7 separate regions of the Homo sapiens genome follow, and all the other regions are linked to region 5. Evidence: promoter capture Hi-C in 16 types of primary human blood cells and fetal thymus (Javierre and others, 2016). All regions are on one chromosome and are shown on one strand. The core of a region is centred on a gene start or on the middle of the fragment in contact, and the rest is flanking DNA. Distances in the headings are between cores, read along the strand shown.

What was found. Contacts are between HindIII fragments. The CHiCAGO score rates a contact against its expected background, and 5 or more counts as called.
Region 1: a fragment that was not itself captured here is called in contact with the fragment with the promoter of DYNC2H1 in region 5 in 5 of 17 cell types (total B cells, naive B cells, naive CD8 T cells and 2 more); the score reaches 11.8 in total B cells.
Region 2: a fragment that was not itself captured here is called in contact with the fragment with the promoter of DYNC2H1 in region 5 in 5 of 17 cell types (activated CD4 T cells, total CD4 T cells, naive CD8 T cells and 2 more); the score reaches 9.4 in activated CD4 T cells.
Region 3: a fragment that was not itself captured here is called in contact with the fragment with the promoter of DYNC2H1 in region 5 in 1 of 17 cell types (total CD8 T cells); the score reaches 5.4 in total CD8 T cells.
Region 4: a fragment that was not itself captured here is called in contact with the fragment with the promoter of DYNC2H1 in region 5 in 8 of 17 cell types (naive CD8 T cells, total B cells, total CD4 T cells and 5 more); the score reaches 11.7 in naive CD8 T cells.
Region 6: a fragment that was not itself captured here is called in contact with the fragment with the promoter of DYNC2H1 in region 5 in 1 of 17 cell types (non-activated CD4 T cells); the score reaches 5.0 in non-activated CD4 T cells.
Region 7: a contact is called between a fragment that was not itself captured here and the fragment with the promoter of DYNC2H1 in region 5, in 6 of 17 cell types (total B cells, non-activated CD4 T cells, total CD4 T cells and 3 more). The highest score is 15.6, in total B cells.

Annotation. Positions count from the first base shown.
Region 1 is chr11:106,060,012-106,063,720 of GRCh38, forward strand. All of the region lies in intron 2 of KBTBD3 (kelch repeat and BTB domain containing 3), which reads right to left. Among named protein-coding and RNA genes, the nearest start is that of KBTBD3, 15 kb to the right of the region's middle. The HindIII fragment of the contact is 1,594 bases long and covers 1,165-2,758 here.
Region 2 is chr11:106,029,444-106,032,710 of GRCh38, forward strand. No RefSeq gene overlaps it. Among named protein-coding and RNA genes, the nearest start is that of MSANTD4, 8.8 kb to the left of the region's middle. The HindIII fragment of the contact is 4,460 bases long and covers 1-3,267 here.
Region 3 is chr11:106,081,068-106,084,886 of GRCh38, forward strand. The region is part of intron 2 of AASDHPPT (aminoadipate-semialdehyde dehydrogenase-phosphopantetheinyl transferase); the gene reads left to right. Among named protein-coding and RNA genes, the nearest start is that of AASDHPPT, 5.3 kb to the left of the region's middle. The HindIII fragment of the contact is 3,713 bases long and covers 692-3,819 here.
Region 4 is chr11:105,860,352-105,863,851 of GRCh38, forward strand. It overlaps GRIA4 (glutamate ionotropic receptor AMPA type subunit 4), which reads left to right. Exons shown (of 17, transcript NM_000829.4): 5 at 1,673-1,857. Among named protein-coding and RNA genes, the nearest start is that of MSANTD4, 160 kb to the right of the region's middle. The HindIII fragment of the contact is 1,623 bases long and covers 955-2,577 here.
Region 5 is chr11:103,107,476-103,110,906 of GRCh38, forward strand. DYNC2H1 (dynein cytoplasmic 2 heavy chain 1) reads left to right here and starts at 1,951. Exons shown (of 89, transcript NM_001377.3): 1 at 1,951-2,294. The coding sequence starts at 2,100. RefSeq lists enhancers at 1,544-1,663, 1,734-1,783. The HindIII fragment of the contact is 957 bases long and covers 1,526-2,482 here.
Region 6 is chr11:106,098,074-106,101,805 of GRCh38, forward strand. It overlaps AASDHPPT (aminoadipate-semialdehyde dehydrogenase-phosphopantetheinyl transferase), which reads left to right. Exons shown (of 6, transcript NM_015423.3): 6 at 1-622. Among named protein-coding and RNA genes, the nearest start is that of AASDHPPT, 22 kb to the left of the region's middle. The HindIII fragment of the contact is 1,392 bases long and covers 925-2,316 here.
Region 7 is chr11:106,008,536-106,011,890 of GRCh38, forward strand. It overlaps MSANTD4 (Myb/SANT DNA binding domain containing 4 with coiled-coils), which reads right to left. Exons shown (of 3, transcript NM_032424.3): 2 at 1,921-2,532; 3 at 1-1,575. The coding sequence starts at 2,382. The coding sequence ends at 1,000. Among named protein-coding and RNA genes, the nearest start is that of MSANTD4, 12 kb to the right of the region's middle. The HindIII fragment of the contact is 175 bases long and covers 1,649-1,823 here.

The DNA of each region.
Region 1 (3,709 bases), core at 712-3,211, 3.0 Mb after region 5:
ACAACTACAGGCAAATGGCAGCTGTGGCTGAAGCCATCTGAAGGTCTGACTGGGTTACATGTCCAGTATGGTTTCCTCATTCACGTTTCTTATGATTCAGCTGGGACGGCTAGAAGAGAGGGGATCTTTCTTCCTTTTTTTGTTTTTTTTTTCTGAGAACACTTAAATATTTATTGATTCATTTAAAAAGAAAAAATTTGATATAACTATATTCGATATATCTATTTAATACACATATTCATATATATCCATTTTATATACATACCTATGTATATAACTATATATAACTACAAAAATATATAAATGGATAACTGTAAAATAACTATTTTCCAAAACAAAAAAAAAGTTTCTTGAGAAGGGTTACATTGTTTTATATTTTTGCAAATCTCTTTAACATCTGGCTTAATGGAAGACAACTAGATTCTCATATCTGCTTCTTTATTCAATCTTTTGTGAAGCTGTATACCATGTGGGCACACATTTACAACCATCTGATCTTTGACAAACCTGACAAAAACAAGCAATGGGGAAAGGATTCCCTATATAATAAATGGCCCTGGGAAAACTGGCTAGCTGTATGCAGAAAACTGAAACTGGACCCCTTCCTTACACCTTATACAAAAATTAACTCAAGATGGATTAGAGACTTAAGTGTAAAACCCCAAACCATAAGAGACCTGGAAGAAAACCTAGGCAATACCATTCAGGACATAGGCATGGGCAAAGACTTCATGACTAAAACACCAAAAGCAATTGCAACGAAAGCCAAAATTGACAAATGGGATCTAATTAAACTAAAGAGCTTCTGCATAGCAAAAGAAACTAGCATCAGAGTGAACAGGCAACCTACAGAATGGGAGAAAATTTTTGCAATCTACCCATCTGAAAAAGGTCTAATATCCAGAATCTACAAGGAACTTAAACAAATTTGCAAGAAAAAAACAAACAACCCCATCAAAAAGTGGGCAAAGAATATGACACCTCTCAAAAGAAGGATATGACACTTCTCAAAAGAAGACAGTTATGTGGCCAACAAATATATGAAAAAAATCTCATCCTCACTGATCATTAGGGTTTTCTCTTTCTTAATGCACCCTCTCCAAGTGGCTAGCTGGTGCTTCTTCACAGCATGACAGTCTCAGAGTGGCTGGGCTTCTTGCATGAAGCTTGGTTCTCCCAGAGCGGGTGTTCCAAGAGGCCTAGGTGGAAGCTAGATACTGGAGAAGTAGTCCAAATTGTCCTACAGCATCAATTAAGGCTCCATTCCAGGACCAAGACAATCTACTGTTGTGCTATGCAATACAGTAACCATGAGCCATGTGTAGCTATTTAAATTACTTGTAAGTAAACAAAACTAAAAATTCAGGTCCCTCATTGCTCTAGCCACATTTAAGTGGTCAGTCATATGTGGTGTGATGAGTGACAATTTGTTTGGGACACAGAGTGCCCACATTTTTGGTTAAACATTACTTCTGGGTATGTCTGTGAGAGTGTTCTAGATGAGATTAACATTTGAATTGGTACACTGAGTAAAGCAGATTGTCCTCCCCACTGTAGATGTGCCTCAGCCTGTCTGTTGAAGGTCTGAATAGAACAAAAGGCTGAATAAGAAAGAACTCTTTCTTTCTGCCTGACTTCAAGCTGGAACTCAAACTGGAACTATACCATCAGCTCTCCTAAGTCTCCTGCTTGCTGACTACAAATCTTGGGTCTTCTCAGCCTCCATAATCACATGAGCTAATTCCTTATAGTTTTTCTGTCTGTCTCTCTCCATATATATATATTACAAACACATATACAAGTATATAGTAAAAATACCTATACATATGTATAGTACAAATACATATACATATATGTGTGTGTGTATATATATATCCCTTTAGTTCTGTTTTTCTGAATAAGTCAGATTAATACATCTGCCTAGTGACTACTATATTATACAAAGCAAATATAAAACATTCTCATCATCACAGAAAGTTCCACTGGATAGCCATTACACTGTGTGGAAAAATAGCGTGCCTGTGTGAATGTGTGTGTGGCTGTGGAGGTGTGTATGTGCCTGTGTGTGCAGGAGAAAGTAATAGGTTGTAACTGGCAGTACTGCTGGAAATCTAAGTGACTTGTAGAAATCATTTTGTGTGTAGTGTTCTGAGTAACTATGAATAGGGAGACATATTAAAAATGAGAGTGGGTATCATGGAGGAAGAGAGATAATGAAAGGCTTGGAGGTTATTTCTGAGGAAAAGGAACTAGAGAAAACAAAACCAATGTGATGGATGAAGATGAGGGCAGAGAGAGAGAGCAAGAGAGAGAGACAGTGAAAGATTGATTTATTATAAGCTCATGTGATAATAGAGGCTAAGAAGTCCCAAGATCTACAACTAGTTAGCTGGATACCCAGGAGAGCTGACAGTACAGTTTCAGTACAAGTGCAAAGGCCTGAGAACCACAACAGCCAATGGTGTAAGTTTCAATCCAAAAGCTGGCAAGCATAAGACCCAAGAGGAGTCAGTTTTTCAATTTGAGTCCAATGGCAGGAAAAGACTGATGTATGTCCCAACTCAAATAGGCAGGATAAATTTCCTATTACTCAGTCTTTTATTCTATTCAATTCTTCATTTGATTGGATAAGGCCCACCACACAGGAGAATCTGCTTTACTTGGTCTCCTGATTCACATGTTAATCTCATCCAGAAATATCCTTACAGACACATTCAGAATGTCTGACCAAATGTCTGGGCACCAGATGGCCCAGGCAAGCTTATAAATGAAATTAACTGTCACAACAGTTCAAATCTTGACTTAACAATGTTGATAACATATGACCTAGGACAGAAAAAGAGTATTTCAAATTACAGTGAGGCATAAAGACAATTATATATGGCTAATGTCCCAGAACTAATTCTTTACCTCACAAGGCATCTTCATAAGTCACTTGTAAGACTGTTTTTAAAATTATGCATGTTTTCTCTTCTTTTCTAATATTTATAAAATACACAGATATGAAATATTAGTTTGTATAAAAATCATACATCTTCCCAAGAGTGTGATATAATGTTGTTAAATAAGATGGCTATTAGCCTGAGGTTACCCTCTGTAGCCAGCCCTCTTATGTAAGAGAACTGAAACTTAACTTGGAAACATTTATTGTAACTGACTTAAAAACCAAAAACCAAAAACAAGCCTTAGCCAATCACAAACAGCCAACCAACCTGCTGGTTACAAATAGGGAACTTCCATCAGACAATATCCAAATAAGGCAAATGCCTAGCCATAGTCAATCAGGTAATTTCTCTACTTTGTTTCCATGTTCAACCTATAAAAGCTTGCTGGTCACACTGCTGGAGTGGAGCTCTCTGAACCTCCTTCAGTTTTGAATGCTACCTGATTCATGAATTGTTCTTTGCTCAAACTCCGTTAAATTTTATTTATCTAAAGCTTTTATTTTAACAATGCGAAATGAAAGAAAAAGTAGGGCATTAGAATCAGGCTTGAGTTCCAGTGCTGGTTCAGCATTTACTTGTGACATATTTGAGGTAAATAACTTCTAATTTTTTATTATTTTCATCATTTGTAAACTGCAGATAAACTATATCTATCTAGTTGTGTTGTTGAGAATATTTTAAAAAATACATAATTGGCCGGGTGCAGTGGCTTATGCCTGTAATCCCAGCACTTTGGAAGGCTGAGATGGGCAGATCACATGGTC
Region 2 (3,267 bases), core at 537-3,036, 2.9 Mb after region 5:
ATTTTATCTCCAGCACCTAGCATTGACCTTGCATTTACTATTTATTACCAAAAAAAAAAAAAAAAAATAGAATTCAGGTTGTGGAATAGACAATGATTACATAATTACTTAGAATAGTAGCCTTACTCGGTTAATCCATCATTGTTTAGCAGCTGACTGAGAGCTCTTTCATCCCACATTGCTCATTGCTTTTAATCCACTTCTTTATCAATCTTCATGGTACACTTAGCCCTAAATACCAAAGACTGTGTTGCCTATAAGCAACGTTCTTGATTTTTTCTTCTATTTAGTTGATTCATGGAGAGTAAAACAGTCTGTGATCAATACACAATAAGAGCAATGCAAATGTAAATGGAATCCTAAGATTGCTAAGAAAAGTTGCCTTTCATTTAACTTATGTTGAACTCATTTAAATTTTTTAAATGCAAGAGCTATGATTCCTGGTAAGGCTTTCTGGGTTGTTCAGCAATAGAAACAATATGTATAAATGTTTTTTTCTGAAGAGGAAAAGGCAAAAGAAACAACAATCCCAATGCCTTGGGTGGCTGAGGCAGGAGGATCATTTGAGGCCAGGAGTTCGAGACCAGCCTGGGCAACATAGTAAAACCTCATCTCTACAAAACATTTCGAAAGCAGCTGGGTGTGATGGCGTGTACCTGTAGTCCTAACTACTCAGGAGCCTGAGGTGAGAGCAGGGGGTGGGATCACTTAAGCCCAGGTATTTGAGGCTACAGTGAGTTATAATCAAGTCACTGCACTCCAGCCTGAATGGCAGAGCAAGACCCTGTCTCTTAAAAAAATAAAGTAACATAATACTATTCTGGTTCCTGATTGTAAGTTTAAAAGTAGATGAGAATATAATGCATTTAATGTAATATATGAAAGCCTATCAAAACCCCAAGAGATATTTTTACTCCTTTTTTTGTCCCTTAATTGCCAATTATTCTACTATATTTCATTCTAAAAAGAAACAAAAAAAGATTATGCTCTTCCTTCTGCAATAATATTGGATGTTAAATTTTAACAGGTCATAAATGAAAGCTGTTTTTATATGTATTTAAGATAAAAGGCTGATTTTTAATAACAAAGTAACTTTTGTTCTACTTTATGGATTTTTCCTCTTTATTTTTCTACTTTTTAGGCATGTTTTTCAGTTTGATTAAATGCCGCACAGTGTGTCTCATGTTATCTGTGTCCTAGTGCTAGAAGACATTCTAATACATTTTGTGTATTGATAGTACTGGCTCTCCCTCCTTCTTGGGGGATGAACAGGGCTTTATTTTAATACAATTTGGAAATGGTGTCAGAATTCAAGGTTTTATTACTATAGCAACAGAGAATAATGGAAAAACTAAATGTCAAACATTCGATGTTGCCATAGTAACAATCAGTTGCTTTACCAGATATATTTACTATTCCATTATGGTCAGTTTTTCAAATATGCTTATCCACGTGAATGCTCGAAAAGGGAAGAAAAAGTTCAGAATCATTTAAGAAAGAAAGAAGCTCCTCAAGAGATGAAAGTAATTTGTTTCACTGCCCATTATTTAGTAAGAAACTCACAGAATCCACGAAAAAAGGATATAAAAGAAACAGAAATTCACATTTCTGTCCTAATAAGTATTCTTTCTATTTGCAGTCAGAGAAATTGAAGCATGGAGTTTAAGGCATGTCTATTTTGTCATTTCATGCTATTTCAAACCATTTTCTCAGAGCTTCTGAAAATAAGGGATTCTGCCATATTGAAATGGAAAACATTTTTCCTTCTTAAGCAATGCCATTGAGGGCACATGCCTGCCAAACAATTGTACTGACCCTAAAGAAACTCCTTAAAGCAGGCAATAGTTTATTCTTGTCGATCTGATTGTCTTCCTTTTCCTTTCAGAAGCCTCCTCCCCTTGCAGACAAAACATTCTCATTATAGTAACTCATCAAGACCATTACTGCTATACAGCTTACTAGTGACCTTGTTCCATACCTGTCTCTTCCTTTTCCCATAATTATTTTCACTAGACTAAACCCAGGGAGGACAGGGGTGATGCTCATTTTCACCATTGGAAATGTAGTTTTTAGCACAATGCCCAGCACATTGTAGGACATAATAAATATTAGTTGAATGAATAAACTTCCATTAAAGGATATCCTTTGTTTTAGTCTCTCTAAGGCTCTACCGGATGACTGAAACACTAAACTCAAGGTATTTTGTAAATAAGCAACAATGGCCTAATGAGTCACTTTTTTCAAAGTAGAAACTACTTTAGAAATGACTGGCATTTTCTGATTCATCTGGGAGGTGGTTGTTGACAAGTCAAGATGCACTTATTCTATGGATACAATTTGCTAAATGGTAGTTAAGTTTCTGGATTGACTAGCAAAACTATATGTAATGCAAACTGCTCCTTGGCTATAAATAAAATAGTATCACTTTAATAGTTTCTAATTCCTTTCATAAAATTATTTCAGTTCTTCAAAATGAATTGCCATCTCCAATTCAGGATTTCAGGAGCTTATCTCTACCAGCCAAGAATGGTAGTTCTGGCAACAGGAAACATTCCCACGTGCCACTAATTTGTGGCTAATTATACTTCTATGGTAGGAAGGATAACATCCCCTGAAAGATGTCTAAGTCCCAATTCCCAAAACATGTAAATATGTTACCTTATATGGCATAATAGACTTTTCACATGTGATTGAGGATCACGTGATGGACAAATTATCCTAGATTATTTTGTTGGTCCAATTTAATTGCAAGGTTCCTACAAGTAAAAGAGGGAGGAGGAAAGTGAGTGTCAGAGCAATGGCTGTGTGAGAAGACTCCACCAACCAGTGCTGGTACGGAAAAGGCAGTAAGAAGCCCATGAGCCAAAGAATAGGGAGAAGCCTTTAGAAGCTGAAAAAGGTAAGGAAATTAATTTTAATCCAGTGACTCCAATTTTGGACTTCTGACCTCCAGAACTGTAAGATGATAAATTTGTGTTGTTTGAAGCCACTATGTTTGTGTTGATTTGTTACAGCAGCAATAGGAAACTAATACAACTTCCAGATCTATTTAAGGGAAACGAGCTTTCAAAGAGCAATGGTTCTGAGATGCTTTGGATTTAGCCCACGTAACATTGAGTTACAAACTCTTAGCTCACCCACTACAGCTATCTTTATTTTCTAGTGAGCAAAAGAACTCCAATCATATTGAAGAGGAAAAAACTAAAAATAATAATGAGAAATAGCAATCATAAAAAGACAAAAAAAAAAGCAAAAGTAAAAATTGTA
Region 3 (3,819 bases), core at 1,298-3,797, 3.0 Mb after region 5:
TCAGAGTTTGATCACTATCACATCTCTTAGTACCTTGCCTAGCATGTAATAGTAAAATATTTGTCAAATGAATGAATAAACACTGTGCTGTTAGAGTATAGGCTTCAGTGTGGTTGTGAATCTCTTCTCCCTTTTGCTTTTATTGTCCTTACCTTGCATTTTCCTACTAGCTACTCTTTCTCTTACCTGCTAATAAACCTTTCCAGTACAACTCTATTCTCAGGTTTGTTCAGAACAAGGCCCTACTAGTGATTTTGGAAACCTTATAACAGATTGTTGATCTGATTCCCTGGATAAGATTCCAGGAATTTTGTTTACCTCCTGAAACTGTATGCTACATTTTGTATGATATGCACATGTGCATTTTTCTTGGGAAAGGATCTGGTATTCAACAGGGACATAGGTGGCTTACTCTAAAAAAATTGCTGCTATAGAGGATTCTTAGCATGGGAATTAGCCCATATATTCTTGTAGCTTTCTGCTGTCATTACAGGAACTTTTTCTAAAATCAGAAATGGAAAGGCCATTGTTTTTTAGAATGCAGTCAGCACAACTACCTGGTAATAATTGGCCCAGTGGGTTGGTATCTGCTTGGAAATGATACTTCTGAGAAACAGATTTTGTTACCAGTTAACTTGATGGGCAGTGTTGGCTATGGTCAATGCTAGATAAACAAGTAATTAATAACTGAAGCTTTTAATAAATGATGGTGTTCTCACTCATAGATGGGAATTGAACAATGAGAACACATGGACACAGGAAGGGGAACATCACACTCTGGGGACTGTTGTGGGTGGGGGAAGGGGGGAGGGATAGCATTAGGAGATACACCTAATGCTAAATGATGAGTTAATGGGTGCAGCACACCAGCATGGCACATGTATACATATGTAACTAACCTGCACATTGTGCACATGTACCCTAGAACTTAAAGTATAATAATAATAATAATAAAAAAGAAAAATAAATGATGGAAAGACAATTGAGCAAAAATTTAAGATTTAGTTTTCCTGTTAATTGTGTTATTAGACCTCCCCCCACCAGTTTTTTTTAGTTGATCTTACTTGACTAATCACAATGTCTAGGCCTTTTCCTTTTCTTTATTTTGTTGTGAAAAAGCTGTTGCTATGTCCAGTAACACAGAAAGGAAGAGAGATTTTCCAATTGTCACTAGTGTTGTTACCATGCTACTGATTCCTGAAGCATCAATGGACACAGCATGATTTCTTAATGAAGATGGGAAGTAGACACTGATTTGCTTCATTGGAGATTCTTTGAATTGCTCTACTTATTGTAGTAAGTGAGGAGATTGAGCAAGGGATTTTTCCTAAGAGTCTTGCTAAATGATGCTAGGCAAAACTTAGGAGAGCAGCAAGGAAAGTACTCTGTTTTGTACTAGGCATTGTTACTAGATTGCCAACTCTAAAGACAGAGTTGGCTTTTGGGGGTTATCATTAGTGCATTGAAAGAGTCAATTCCATTACTCTGTCTTGTCCTATAGGTAAGAATCCACTAGGAACTCAGAGAGTCTTTTTCTTTCATGGTGCATTAACCATTTCTGCTGAGTGCAGCTCATTTCCCTCCCTCTACCTGTTCTCCCAACTGTTGCTGTGGACGTGCAGGAGAGAACATACCTAGTATATAGCCTACCATATGCCAGGACGGTACATTCTTACTCTTAGGAAGAATGGTGTTTTCCTGGTCTTCATCTTAATTTATTACCCTCTTTTGGAAAATTTTGGTTGGTTTTCCCTTTGTTTTCTAATTTTTTCTACCATTAAAAGTGTTTGAAGTGATAAGCATAAAGGGTAACTTTTGAATTGTTTAGTTTTGTGACCATATTTACAAAGTAAGGCAAAATAAAATAGACAAAATACATAAAAATTATGATTGAAATTTGGGAAAGGACCAGAATTTTCCCCCTATGGTTTTACATGTTCGTCTTTACATTTTTAAAATAAACTTTGCTGGACTTTTTTTTTTAAATGCACTTGGGATTTAAAACCTGTAAGTAGTTTTAGAAACTCACACATCACTTTGTACTCTGAATTCCTTACTGGAAAACCAAGTCTCCACCCTCAAGGAGTTTTCCTCCTTCCCAGTTACAGGTCGGTCTTTTTCCTTTGTCAGTAGGATTTGATTGTGTAACTAGTATTTATTGAGCAATTCCTACAAGTGTGTGACACTATATTAGATGCCTAATAGGTATTATTTCATCTTTGTAAGACTAGTGCGTAAGTACTACTGTTATTTTATATAAAAGGTTAAGACATTTGTCCAAGTTGACTTAGCTAAAAAGTAAAACTTCATATATTTAACCACTGCTCTCTACAGTATATGGCCTCTCAGTATGAGATTTTATTGATTCCTATTAAAAGAATTTGCAGATACCAAAATATGAAAAATTCTGTGAAACTGGGTTACATACATTTAAAGTTGTTATGGAAGAACTAATGACTAGGAATATGAAAAATATAGTAAGGGTCTTGCCTTACCAGTTTCAAAAACTTGTGTTAGTCATTGTAAACTAAAAAGAGTATGGTACTAGCGAAAGAATAGACAACTGGAAGAGTTAATCTTAGAGCCCAGGATATATACATATTTCAATTCAGTGGATAAAAGATTATTTATTAAATGGTGCTGGTAGAATTGGTTAGTCATGTGGATGTAACACATACTATATACACCAATTTGGAGGAATTAGAAATTTAAAAATAAAAAAGTTTAAAATTTTAGGACAAAATATAGTTGACTATGATGTCGAGTTGCAGTAAATCTTTTTATGAATTCTTTTCAAACGAGACAGAGTTCAGAATTTATCAAAGAATGGATATTTAAATTTAAAAAAATTATATTCCAAAAATATAACCAAATACAAAAGATAAATAATAGAATAAGGAAAATTCTTATAACAAATTTGGTAAGGTGTCAATATCCATAATATATAAAGAGCTTCTATGAAGTGATTAGAAAATATTAATAGGCACGTTACAGAAGAACAAATTCAAGCAGTCAGTAAGCTATTACCTTAATGATTAGAGTAATGCAAATTAAAGTAACAGTGAGGTGCCCATCAGATTTGCAGAAAATTGGAAAAAAAACACTTAGAGCTTGTGAAAATGTCGGAAAAGAACAATCATATAGATGGAAACACTAGAAATTGCTACAGGCTTTTTGGAAAATAATGTTAAAATTGAAAATACACATAGTCTTTGATTTAGCGATCTTGTTTATAGTACTCTATCCAAAATATTTATGAATAACAACAAAACCTGAATGCTGCTAATAGAAATTGGTTAAATAAATTAATGGTGGATGCATTCTGCAGATAATTATTAGCTGTAATAAAAGAATTAGTTAGGTCTATATGAACCTGAAGGGACTTAGAATATATATATATTTAATATTATAATAGAGACAGGGTTTCTCCATGTTGCCTAGGCTAGTATTGAACTCCTGGGCTCAAGTGATCTGCCTGCCTCAGCCTCCCAAGTGCTAGGATTACAGGCGTGAGGTGTGAGCCACTGTGCCCAGCCAATATCACATCATAGAAAAATATATATAGCAGAATCTTTTTTTTTTTTGAGACAGAGTCTGGCTCTGTCGCCCAGGCTGGAGTACATTGGTGCTTGGCTCACTGCAAGCTCTGCCTCCTGGGTTCAAGCAATTCTTTTGCCTCAGCCTCCAGTGTAGCTGGGATTCCAGGCACCCGCCACCTGGTATTTTTAGTAGAGACGGAGTTTCACCACGTTGGCCAGGCTGGTCTCGAACTTCTGACCTCAGGTGAACTGCCCGCCTTGGCCTCCCAAAGTGCTGGGA
Region 4 (3,500 bases), core at 516-3,015, 2.8 Mb after region 5:
CAATTAGAAAACTCAACAAATATGCCCTAATCTTCCAAGTGCGGTATACTCGTTTTAAATCTTCACTTTTAATCCACCCAGCTCTCTACCCAATTCCAGTATCACAGGAAGAAGAAACTACAGACAGTTGCTATAGAATGAGCTCAAATAAGTGTTAGACTTTGTTAAAGAGGACTAGAATATTCTGTTTATGCTAAACCATAAAGTGAAAATATAACTGACTAACAGGCTCTGATCCTAACCAATCTTAGTGTATGGGATATTTATAAATTCAAAGAATCTTTTTTTTATTCTTCTCTCACATTACAATTCAAAAATGAGAGATGGGGCTGGGTGCTGTGACTCACGCCTATAATCCCAGCACTTTGGGAGGCTGAGGCAGGTGGATCACAAGGTCAGGAGTTCAAGACCAGCCTGGCCAATATGGTAAAACCCTGGCTCTACTAAAAATACAAAAATCAGCCAGGTATGGTGGCACGCACCTGTAGTCCCAGCTACTTGGGAGGCTGAGGCAGAAGAATTGCTTGAACCCAGGAGGTGGAGGTTACAGTGAGCCAAGATTGTGCCACTGCACTCCAGCCTGGGCAACAGAGCAAGACTGTCTGAAAAAAAAAAAAAAAAAAAAAGAGAGATGGAAAAAAGGCAGGACAATCAAGACAATATTGGCCTGAAGATATATTGCATTTCCTGAAGAAATGCAGGAATTATGAGTTTACAGCTTCTGCCTTAACCCAGGTGCTTGGACCAGGTGCCTTCCCTTCCACATGCAGAGAGAACTAGATCAAGAACAGGGTGAAGACCATTCATTTTATTCTCTCATGGCAGGCTGTCTTCACGTAATAAACACCCCCACCTGCATCAGTCTTGCACGCTCCTTCTCAACCTTCAAGACCCAATTCAAGTTGTTTCTCCTCTGTGGTATTTTTCCTTGTTCCATCCAGACAGCTCTAACCAAGCTTTCCCTTGGGCCAAGCCTTTACCTTGAGTCCGGCTACACACTTTTTAAAACTAAGTTTCTGTTGTTTATTTGGTCATCAGTCTCTTACTGATTAGGAGTACCAGTGCCTCACCTAGTGGTTATTCAACTGATCCCCAGTCTATATCATTCACCTGCTGAGAGAGGAAGAGTTAAATAATGCCTCTCTAATATGCACCTGTCCTCATCAACAAATAAAGCACCGAGAATAATGAGTCCTCAATAAATACTGTTGTACTGTTTCTTTTACATCTTCTCTTCCATAGTTGAACCAAAAATGTTGTACTACCTTGTTCAAGGGGAAAGTCAAACAGTTGTTCAAAATGAGTTCCATCTAGTGAGTAAAATAACAAAAAGGGTTTATGAAATTGCTATTGACTACAGATGGTGGTGGATTTGGTTTGGGGTTTGTCTCATCAAAAAAATGTCTACAGCAATGCAATGTTCTCCAGTAAAGAGATTTTGAGAGCACAAGGTATGGTGTTGCTACTTCATTCAATCAACATTTTAAGAGATTTTGTTGCCATGACTAAAGAAAGTAAGAATAAATTATTCAGAAATAACCACACAGACTTTAAGTTTCTAAGCATTCAGTATATTTTGGAACATAACAGTGTTGATATAGGCTCAGTACCTGCATACATCATTAAAGGGGAGTAAAAGCATGTTTTTAGTAACTTTTTTTTTCCCCAATAGGATACTCGATACTCCAAGCTATTATGGAAAAAGCAGGACAAAATGGTTGGCATGTCAGCGCTATATGTGTGGAAAATTTTAATGATGTCAGCTATAGGCAACTTCTAGAAGAACTTGACAGAAGACAAGAGAAGAAGTTTGTAATAGACTGTGAGATAGAGAGACTTCAAAACATATTAGAACAGGTAAGTCCTAGATTTTATATTTTTAACCTAGACCCTATACAGAAAAATTTAACCTTTGATTGACTTGTCCCCATCAACATCTTCTCCCAGCTTTTAATTTGGAGTGTGAGGTTTGAGAGTTTTCATTCCATGACTATCTTCAGGACCAAATCACAATCTTTTATCACCAAGGACCTTTTTGGTTCTTAAGTCTCAATGTATTTAGAAAGCTATTTCTCACATATTCTTAAGACTTGAATGAGTGAAAGACTCTGTGTGAATCTTGAAGAGCTCTTGGCCTCCAGTTTTCGAAAATATTAATGTTGAAGATTAATCCCATCTAAAAATAGTACAAAAATTCTAAATTTGTGGGTGCACCATTTTTAGAGGCACACTTACTTTAGAGAAGTGCTACATGAGAAACAGCAACATAAATTACTAAAGCAATAAAATAAAAGAAAAGTCAGTGGAATACTGTATATAATTTAGTGGAATACTGTATATAGCATGTTTTCTGCTAGGTATTATAAGTCAATACATTACTACCCCAGTGGAGATGGTTTTCAACTCTCCTCAAAATGGAAAAGTCCTTGAATAAATGTTTCAATAAATATTTGTTGATTTGATTTGAAGCAGCCAGGAAAAGATTAAACTGAGCTTTGCCGTTGTATTAAATGATAGGAAAATATCATCAAATAATGGATAACATCTGCCTTTCCCTACCCCTGCAGATCATGATAAAGCTTTAAAGGCTCTTTGGCCAAAATTGCAGTGAGTGAATGCCATCTAGTGGTTTTAGAAATGCTTGCTCATATTATCTACAATACGTTAGTTCAGCCAGACATGGGTAATATAATTTTTTGTTGGTTAGTTTTTTACATATAGCTTAACTGCATAATTATATGACTTGATTTCCATTAGTAAACTTGCCAATTTGGAGGTTTATTTATAGGAATAACTTTAGTATTCAATTGTAAGAATGAAAACCAAAATATATTTCAGAGATTCAGCTTTACTATTTGCAGGCAAGGGACTAGATGTCTTCAGTTTCCTTCCTCAACTATATTAGCATTTGTAAAAGTGAAAAGTAAAAGAAAACAAACAAACAAAAATGTTGTATTGCTAAAGTCTAAAGAAGCCAGACCATAAGAGGAAATAACAGAGTATTTACTTCCTGTCGTCCCTTTGTAGAAGAAAAAGCTAAATATATATATATATATACTGAAGAAATATATATGTTATTTTGGGAAATATTAATTAAAAGCCTATACATTACTCGGGCTTATTCCTAAGAGAGTCCAAAAAATTTTTGAAGTTGTAGCTATTCAATGTATATGAAATTTTTAAATGGTTAGTTACAGAATCCAAGAAAAATCTTTCTTCTTTCTTAAGCAATACAGCCACTTTACCTCCGACTCCCATTTCCCTCCCTCCCACTCCTGCCCCTGTATTGAGAGTTTGAGTTGTTTGACCTGAACAACTGAAGCTTTGTAAATAACTCACGATGAATCCCACAGAGCAGCCAATTCTAAGAACTGCCTGGATTGCCAAGTTCCTGTCAGAGGGTGAGTAAGGCTCAGAAAGACCCTCCACTTAGCACCTGTGCTTAAAAGACCAAGTCTGGAGGAGGCAATTGAGTGCCTAAAGCACACTGACCCATTTCA
Region 5 (3,431 bases), core at 701-3,200:
GTAGCCACTTCTTAGCTATGGAAGGGAAAAATAGATTTTGGTGGATATCTGGCTAACACTGTGATATGGTATATAGAGATTGGCTCAGAATTGGATTTTGGTAGGAATCTTGGTTCTACCACTTACCATCTCTGTGTTTTTGTGTAAGTTATTTAATCTGTGAGGTTCTTTCTTCTTTATTGTATGCTTGATACAATACATAAAGTCCGTATCTGTCTTTTCTTCCCACTCTGTGCCTCATTTTTCGTATATAGTAGTGAAAAGGAAACACAAAACTTCTATTTCATGGGGTTTACATGTCAACGGGAGCTTCCATGTTTGAGATCGGTGTTAAACTTGATTCAAACACAATTTCATAGTTTGTGGAAGCCCTAAGTTTCCTGAAGAGTTCTAAAAATTCTTGGGAGGATCACATACTCATGATCTCATCTGCTTTCTAGACTCATCTTCCTACATGTGTTGCCTTTTTATTTACCATATTGTTATGGAAGCTCAATTCAGCCATTTCATACATTTCCACCAAAACAACTCACCAAACCGAGCACTTGTGGGTAATGGAGACTTTCCTGAAGACCTTGGTAAGAGTGATAATGCTCATTGCAGAGCAGGAAACTCTGTAACCATAGTGGTCACTTTGGCTTTCAAAATCTTTTTATTAGCTACACAGTCATCTTGGGTTCCTGTTAGGATTTTTTCCCTCACCCAGTGGTCAGCATCCCACCTCACTGTTTGGATGTTTTCCCATCCAGTGGCCAGACTCCCATCTCTCACTGTTTGGATATTTCATGAGAATTTACATTCATTTCCTTTTATAATTTAGAGCAGTTCAGCTTTTTTAAGTTCCCACTCCAAAATCTTAAGTTGCTCAGCAAATAAAAGGACTCTCTCCTTCCAATTCTCAAATAGTATAGTTTTAAGGGGAGGTTATGATTATTAAGTGCAAACAAAAAAAATCTGCATATGTTTGTGTACCCTAGGATCTTGGGTCAAACCAGTGCTGAGGTGATGAATGACTACAGCAAAAACTTCCTGAGGGCAGGAACTGTGTCCCCAGGGCCTAGTTCGGTACTTGGCAAATTGTGTTAGATTGGTGCAAAAGTAATTACAGTTCTTGCCAAAAAACCGCAATTACGTTTGCACCAACCTAATAGCATGTAGTAAATATTTTTAGAAGAGAATTACTGAATTGAGAAAGTGTTTGACGAATGTTCGGATGAATGACCAGCAATTTAGTAGTTTATAGTAATGCCATGAAGTAGAAAATGACAAAGACCGTTTTCATATCTGTATTTTCACAGAATTTGGTTGCGGTTGTTATAAAATAAACTAAAAAGTATCATTTTACATTTTAGCTATTTTACAAATATGGTTGTGCTCGGGTAATGATTGCAATAAAAAATTGCTGGTTAAATTATTCTAAAATTAATAATAGAAAAAACGATGTTGGGAAATGCAGCAGCACAGAAAGGAGCAGAGGGCGACTGAGAAAGTAAATTAACATTGTATTGAATTCCTAGTCTTTATAAGCTTCTCTAAAAAGCGATTTTTAAATAGTAATCTTTTACAATCCGCACTACACCCCTGGTTGTGAGATAGTATTTCCCCTTCTTAACAGATGTGTACCTTGACGCTGACAGACTGGTTTGCTACCAGGTGCACGTGGAGAGCGAGCACTGGAACCCAGCTCTCCTAAATCTAGATCACGCTGCTGTACTTGAAGGCTAGATGTCTCTCTTCTGATTATGCGTGATAAGAAATCAGTAAGAAGAATAAAAGACATGTTTGAGAGCCAACATAAACTTGTCCGAACCCCTTACAATCGATGACCGCAGGGAGCCGCTGAAGAGCTCCGAGGCGGTCGATAGCCTCCGCGAGCTTTGCGTGCGCGTGCCCCGAGAGGGCAACGCCCACCGCGCGCCGCCAGCGACGCCGCCGTAGTGCTCCGTCGCCATAGCGACTACCCCTGGCAACCGCGAAGCTCTGCGGTCCCGCGGTCGGGCTACGGGTTTGAGCAAAGCTCCTCTCTTCCCTTCACTTCCCTCCGGACTGGTTTCTTCTTCCTTCCCCCTTCCCCCAACTTCCCTCCACCCCTTCCAATCATGGCGAACGGGACTGCGGACGTTCGGAAGCTCTTCATCTTCACTACTACCCAGAATTACTTCGGGTTGATGTCTGAACTCTGGGATCAGCCACTGTTGTGCAACTGTCTTGAAATCAACAACTTCTTGGATGACGGCAACCAGATGCTCCTCAGGGTGCAGCGATCCGACGCAGGAATCTCCTTTTCCAACACGGTACGGTTCCTTGCACTCCTGCCTGACCCCTGACCACTCTTCAAGTCCCCAGGCCCAGCCAGAGGGACGTCGGGTCACACTCTTTAGCTTTACCAACCAGATCCTTTTCAGGAACCCAAGGCTGTCTCCACTTCTCCTGCATTATTGGCTTAGATGCGTTGGCCTCGTGCTTAAGCAGGTAGTTTCCAAGCTTTGCATCCTACCTGACCGAAGCATGTTTCCCTTCCATACATCTGAATAGAAGCAATTAGATTGTGTTTTATTTTAAATTTTTATACGGAGTTTCGTTCTGTCGCTTAGGCTGGATGGAGTGTAGTGGCGCGATCTCTGCTCACTGCGTCCTCCACCTCCTGAGTTCAAGCGATTCTCGTGCCTCAGCCTCCCGAGTAGCAGGCGCGCGCCGCCACGCCTGGCTAATTTTTGTATTTTCAGTAGAGACGGGGGTTTCACCACGTTGGCCATGTGGGTCTCCATCTCCTGACCTCAAGTGATCCGGCCTCCCAAAGTGCTGGGATTGCAAGCATGAGCCACCGCGCCCGGCCTATATTCTACTTTTTAAGAAAGACTGCAGATACGTTATAACTAAAAAGAAAACATTTACTTAGTTATTTTTATTTTTTTCTCTCCCCTTTTTGAGTTTTTTTTTTGGGGGGAAGGCAAATTCTAGTCTATCTTTTTTGGATCAGGCTCTGATTTTAACATTGCCCAAGGGAAAGATTAGTTAGGAATTTAAATTTTTGTGAAATGATATATTTCAAAATAAAGTTTGAATTCTTTTTTGGTGTACATCATGTGATATACTGATTTATTAATTGCACTGCTCCCTCCACTGGCAGGATTGCTTAAAAAATGGGTTGCATTTGCAATCAGGGCTTATATATATAAGCCTAAAAGAAAAACACAGAAGAAAATTGCCTGACACATTAAAGGGGACTCAGTAAATAGATTTAAGTTAATAAAACAAAGACATATTTTAAACCTCTTCCTTTGGTGTTCACCCTTATCCCTAGGTCTAGCAGAGTTTTTGACACTCAGCAAAAACATTCAGTGCCTTTTTTTTTTTTTTTAGACGCAGTTCGCAGTTTCGCTCGTATTACCCAGGCTGGAGTGCAATGGCACAATCTTGGCTCACTGCAA
Region 6 (3,732 bases), core at 371-2,870, 3.0 Mb after region 5:
TAGTACTATATGTATGTGACTTCCCTCCCCCTGCCAGAATACTCCTTGGTCAATTGTAGGTATTCTTTTTGGTTTAATTTTTGCCAATGTAATTAAAAAATGGTATGTCATTTTTAAAATTTGTATTTCTTTCATTACAAATAAGATTGTTATGTCAGTATTGTTATTGGCTTTTCGTATTCCTCTTAACGTGAACCGTCTGTTCATTGTTTTTACCTGTTTTCGTTTTAGCAAGTAGTACTTAATTTAAAGTGTGAACTTAATATATAAGATGCCAGGACCATCATATTGATGACAAAAATCTATTATGTGGTTGTAGTGCATGTCTTGGAGTTAAACTCTTAAGTATCAAGAAGTAAAATAATTTCATTGTTTCTGTTACTAACATTAAAAGTGTGCAAATTGTATAAAATTAGGTACTTCGATTAGTAAAAGAAAAAAATTTGAATGTTTTTTTTTTTTATTTTATTAAGCATGCCCAGTTATGCCAAGCATAGTAAATAAAGGTCAAGTAGCATTTATAATAGAGGAAGTATTGTTATCCCTAGCATGAGTGTAATGGTGATATGAAAAACTTTGTCTTGTCATTATAATAATAAAAAAATGAACATTTATTATGGAATTTCTATGAGCCTGACACTGTGTTGGATTTGTGTTTTTTAGTTTTTAGTTTTTCTATTACTTTTAATCAAAGTTTCATGTGTACACAGCTTTAAAAAATTGGATAGATCTGTAAGATTTTTTTCCTAAGGAAAAAGGCCATTACTCTGACTTCTTCCATTTCCTGTCTCCAGGGCAAGCCCTTTCAACTCTTTTAGATGTTATTTTTTTTGTTATTTATTACCATGTCTCCAAATGACATGCTTATATTGCTTTTACTTGATTTTTTAATTTTAGGCATTGTTTCTTTGATTTTCAAAATAAAGCTTCCCTCTTCTGCTTCCCAGCATTACACATTCCCTTTTTATCCCCTTTTCTCCTCCCAACATAACAATTCAATGTTTACATTGTTGACTGTGATTACACTAAGGATATGTGTACATTATTGAGATTATGTAACTGCTGTATACAGCTGAGTGATGTATTATCCTTACCATATACTAATTTCTTATTTCCTTTAGTTAATTGACTGCATAGATTTCTACCATATGTATGAATATCTTCTCTATATGTTCAAACGTAACAATGATTCCATCAGTTTCTTTCATCTTTTAAAAAATCACTCCTAGAGCAATCTGCTTTGTCCAAGTTGGACTTTGTGCCTTCTATGGCTGGTGTACAGCTGTAATCCTGGGATCTCCTTTACCATGATCCTGGGGATTGTCTCTCCTGTGTTGGATTCCCTGTTCCCCATTTGCTATCTCTCACATCTTAGATTTACTCCATTCATGTGAAATAGCTTTTTGAGAACAAAGTGGGCATAGGAGTTACATTTTTTGAGACTTCTAAGAGGAAGGGACAGTCCTATGCAGAGTGGTATAGGGATCTAGTTGTTTCTTAAACCCATTATCCTATCCCCCTCCACATGAAGCTCTTTGTTAACGCTGTATTCATATCCACTTTTTCCAAGTATTTGATGGCTGCATTTTGCTGAGTTTTGTGCTGGGCTGGCACATGCTGCTTCATACTCATGTCTGCTGGGTCCAGTTATAACATACTGACCAATGTATGGCTTTATTGGTCTCTGTTAATGTGTTTCCTGCATAGGAACTCTCATAAATTTATTTTTAAAATGAATCTGTATATTTGTGTCTCTTCCATTTCAGACTCAGAAATTGAAAAGATTTGGATAAATTTTCAGTTAAATTTTTCACTATCAAAATTAGAATTGTTACCTATTCAGAATCTGAAACTCAAAAACCAGTTAGGTTTGAGTAACTCAACAGCTCCTCACTAGTGGAACTATTACCATCTGAACTTGAGGACCAAATAGATTTATAAATACACATATGCAAATATATCTTTGGTCAAAAATATTCCTGAAAACAACTCCAAGTATCAGTACGTTTAAAGAGGATATGAAGAGAGCTAATGAATGATGGATTTCATTTTTATGGGGGAAATAAATATACCTTCATAGTATTTGTGAATTTGGGATTGGCAAAGGTCTTTGGATGTATTCCCAGTTTATCAGTTAATGTCAGGTAACTGCTGTATATGTCTTATGGTATTTATATTAGAAGCTATTTTGCATCTTAAGCACTCACATATCAGGCTATTTAATTCTTATAACTCTATGGAGTTGTATTGATGGGGAAAGTAAGTTACTGAGTTCTTGAACAACTTACTAAAGGTTATATATTCATTGAATACTGAAGCTTGTTATTTGATCAGAGTTAGGCTCAGATCTTTAGATCCAAAACCTCAGTCAACCACTATACTTAGTGGTGTGCTGGTAAATATTTAACAACCAGCAATCCTGGGGCAGGGAAGAAGAGACCTTTATATGTAGCTTTTGCTTATTCCATGAAATAATGACGTGTAACCAACACCTAGGTTTAGCACATGTTGGCATTTTGTCATATTCGCTTCAGATCTTTTTTCCTCTCATTTCAGGAATAAAACAAATGCAGCTAAAGACTTCCTACCCCCTAGTTACCACCCCTTCATCTTTCCCTTTCCAGGGATAATCTCCAATATTTGTAATTTTATGCTGTTATGCGTTTACTATTTGTATGTATAGTGTTTTGTGATTAAATCTTACATTTCCCTATTAGGATTGAAACATTAGGATGGAATCTCTTTGTGTGCTACTTAGAAGTAACAACAGTGTCAGAATAATTGAGCTCACTTAAGCCCACACTTCTCAAGGAGTATACATACTTAGGAGTAGGCACTGGTGTGTGGTAGTAACTCATCAAAAGATAGCAATTGGTCATCTAGAGGCATTCGTTTTATCTGAAATTTTGGAAAGAATCTTTTCATAATAAAAGTATTACAGACATTGTAAGTAGCATGCAAATTTGCCTGTATTTTAAGTAAAAAGGTGTGGGGCTTCAGAGGAATTTTCCTGCCCACGAGTACATAGTTGCTGTTCTTTTAGGGTCATTTTTGAATGAAAACGAATTTCATTTTGAATGTTTTTCATTTTGAATGAAAAAACATTGGAAAGGAGCCAGCATTAGAAGGGGAAAAAAGTAACATTTGTTGAGTACTTAAGCAGTAGAGCCCAAATCTTGGTGTGGTATACCCCTCTGCAGGTCACCTTTAGGGGACTGACCGTGTTGCAGGTGTAAGACCACTTTTTTACTATCCTAGAAGCCTTCAGCAATAGGCAAGTGAAATCCCATAAATTTGATGCTCCTGATAGTTCCATGAGTGTTTTCGGTTGTTACTTAGCACCCTTTAAAGCTCTTCATGCTTTTTCCAGTGTTGCATGAGCAAGAAGCCTGCTAAACTAGTTGTTCTTTTCCCCTCTAAATCCACTATCTTTCACCCTTCACTACCGCAGGAAGCTGACTTCTATGTACCTTGTTGGCCAGGCTGTCTTTTCCTTGATCGGGTTTTGCAAATAGAGGTGGGGGAGGGTATTAGCAGAGGACTAGGTAGAAAGGGAAATAGGATGATTATCCACTTGCCTTCCTGCCCTGCAGTGGCTTGGAAATAGCTGTGTTCCTCAGCATCACAGCTTCTGACATAGCCTTCTCCATATATACATCTCATGGGTTCAGGAACAACTTTTCCCTGCCTTTTCATTTTAGAAGTAGAAAGATCTTGCTCTTGCTTAGCCTA
Region 7 (3,355 bases), core at 486-2,985, 2.9 Mb after region 5:
CCCTACTCCCAAATGGCTGCTATTACTTATTTTAAAAGTCAAACAATCAGTCATTGGGTTCAAGCTCATGGACTACAAGTACCATTTTTATACTGGTATCATTTTTACTAGCTTCAACTATTCACTTATAAGATTTCAGTACATTACTGAAATGACATTTTTGTACCCAAACTAAGACAATGACTGAAAGAAAAGGAACTAAAGCTTTAAAATTGCGTCTTGCTTCTAAAGCATTAATAGTGAGAAAAAGAATTCTTTTCAAAGTGACCCATTTTAGAAAATTTCTGATGTTCTCTGTATTGTTTTCTGAATCTGAGAAGGCTATTTATAGATGGAAACATGGGAATAAAATACCTATAATCTTCATCACTTCCTATATTCAATATACTACACAGTAACATTTCATAGTTAAAGTTTTTGGCCATTTAAGTACCTACCCACATAAATATCTGAGGTTTTAATATTCTAAAACTATAAAACATAGCTATAGAGGTACACAGTTAGGCTAGGACAGGGTTTCTCAACCTCAGGACTAATGATATTTTGGGTTGGAAAATTCTTTACTGAGTGTGGGGGGGTGTTGAGGAGGTATGCATTGCACAGTAGCAACCTTTTCCCCACCCCAGTTTTGACAACCCAACATGTCTCCAGACATCACCAAATTGGTCTTCTGAAGGCCAAAATCTACCCCAGATGAGAACTTCTGGGCTAGAATTTTATATGGACATAATTGTAAACTCTGGGTACACAGACAATACAAGACTCTATGTAATATTATAAGGTAAAGAGTCCAGCACAGTAAGTTTCTGCTATACTGTTTACGCTAGGGCACAGCTTTTATATACTACTTAGGCATACAGTTATCCACATATAACTTTTTCCTACTGAACACTGACATTAGACAAGAAACCACAGCTAATCCAGCAACCATCATTATATCACCTGATATGAGAAAAATCTAGAGTTTTCAAACATTTGCTAAATGGAAGCCTGGAAAAATCACTGCAAGTGTCCTTCTTTCTGAATTCGAAGTCTGTCTTTCTCTACCTGTAAGCGTTCCTTTTCAATCTGCAGCTTCTCAGATTCAAACTTCAAAAACTGCAGCCTATCCTTTTCCAGTTGCAAGCGTTCTCGCTCAAGTTTTAACTTCTCTGTTTCTATGTCCTGTGGTTGAAGCATGGATTTTTCTCCTTGACCAAGTTCATTTTCCAAGGACGGTTTCTCTGAATTGACTATCTGTAACCTCAACTTTTCTCTTTCAATCTGCAGCCGCTCCTTCTCTAGCTGAAGCCGCTCATGTTCCATGTCTAAATGCCGCAGCCTCTCTTTCTCGATTTGTAGGCGTTCCTTTTCTACCTGCAGCCTTTCGGCCTCGATATCCAGTCGTCGTTTTTCCAACTCTAGTTTCTGTTTCTCAATATTTACGAGCAAATGAGGCTCATCATATGCAGATCTAGATGGTGTTGAGTTAAGGGTAAAAAACTCATCAATGTGGGGGAAATCGGGAAGTTCATTTTCTCTCCTGGAATCTGGTATGACGGATGACAACATTTCTTCCTCCTCCTCAATTTCAAACTAAGAGCAAAGAGAAAAGCAATTTTCAGTATTGACTTCTACTTTGTGGCAATTTGTCTAAATATTTCTTAAAAGCTTTCTGCGTCGTTTGGGGAAAAATACTTAATTTGAATTTTGAATATCATTTACACTGAATTACTTGATGTCTGTAATACATATAACCTAGGTAATTATATTTAGGTGGGAAGAAAAGTATTAACGATGTAAAGAGAAAAGCAGAATGACTTGTTATGTACTATTTTTAAATAAGCTTGAAAATCTTGGAATGTGTTAACAGTTCCTGAACAATAATCTCCCACATCAGAATTGAAAAGATTAAAAGAGGGTACAGAGGCTAATACTTACTTCAGGACTCTGCGGATCCCTTTCTTCCTCTTCCACCTTGACCTCAGTTAAGGATCCACCTGCATCCCTGAAATCTGCCACATTTTGCCAGTCAAAATTTGCATCATTTCGGAATCCAATCTTTTCATCTATCTCTTCAGTGAGAGAGTCATCCAAATCAGAGGAGGGAAGGGGAAATCCTGAACCAACCAGCTTAATGTTGGCCTTCATCCTCTTTCTCTTCATAAGTGCTCGCCAGTCAAGGTACCTTCTTTTCACCTCTGTCCCTGTCCTCTGTTCTCCTTCTCCTACAGCATTCACACACTGTGCAATCTCTTCCCAAGCCATTCGCTTCATCACATTAATTGTTGTATTGAGCTGCTTGGAAAAAATGACTTCTTTCCTTTTCGTAATTTCTTTCAAAAGGGTCTGAGTTTCTTGAACACTAAAATTGCTTTTCCTTTTTCTTTTCAACTGCTTCATTTTCAATTTCAATGCAGTTTTTATGGTAAGAGATGTGAAAACAATTTGAGGAATGCTGCAAAGCACAAAAACCAGGGATAATTCTTTGCTGGCCCTTAGTTCAAATCATTGTCTTCCATTCATCTAGTGGCAAGGCAGTCTGGATAATTCCTAAAAGGAAAAAAGTACAAGCAATCAATCAATCTGCAACTTCTACAACATACTTCAACCTAATGAACTATATAATTTTTAAGAGAAACAAAAAACAACCCTCTAAATATAGCTTAAAATTGTGTACTTCTTTATCTTTGCCAGTACTAACATAGTCCAAATTGCCGTTTTCTCCCCACTGGTGTGCTGCAAAGGTTCCTAACCAGTTGCCACTATTCATTCCTGACTCCCTTCCTACTACTTCAGCTCCTTCTCCCACAAATTCTCCCTCTCTCCTCCAATTGCACTGGCCATCTTTCAGCCACCTATTCCTGTCAAACTCTTTCTTAGTTCAGGGCCTTTGTCCACACTGTTCCTTCTGCCTGGAAAATGGATTGCTCCCTTCTCGGTCTATTTTATTCCTCCTCGGTCTACTTTATTCCTCCTCATCCTTTAGCTTGCAGATTAAGCATCCGTTTCTCAGGGAAGCCTTTCCTGACAAATCAAATTACTCCAGCATAAAATTTGCAGGACTCTTCCTAGACTGGATTTTATACTTGTGCTAACATACAGCTCAGAGTCTGTCCTTTCCCCAGTTCACTGCAAAGTTTCACAAGGGCAGGGATGTTTCCACTGGCCATCACCTCCCCAGAGCCTAGCAGAGATTCTGGCACATGGCATGCATACCATAAATATGTTTTGAATGAATGAAAGAGTCGATTTGCCAAAATAATCATTAGTTTGAGATATCTAAAAGAAAAAGTACACTTTGCAGAATAATTTTAGAGAAAAACTGAAAGGCTGAGCTGCAAAATCAATAAAACTCAGAAACCAATTTGAGACA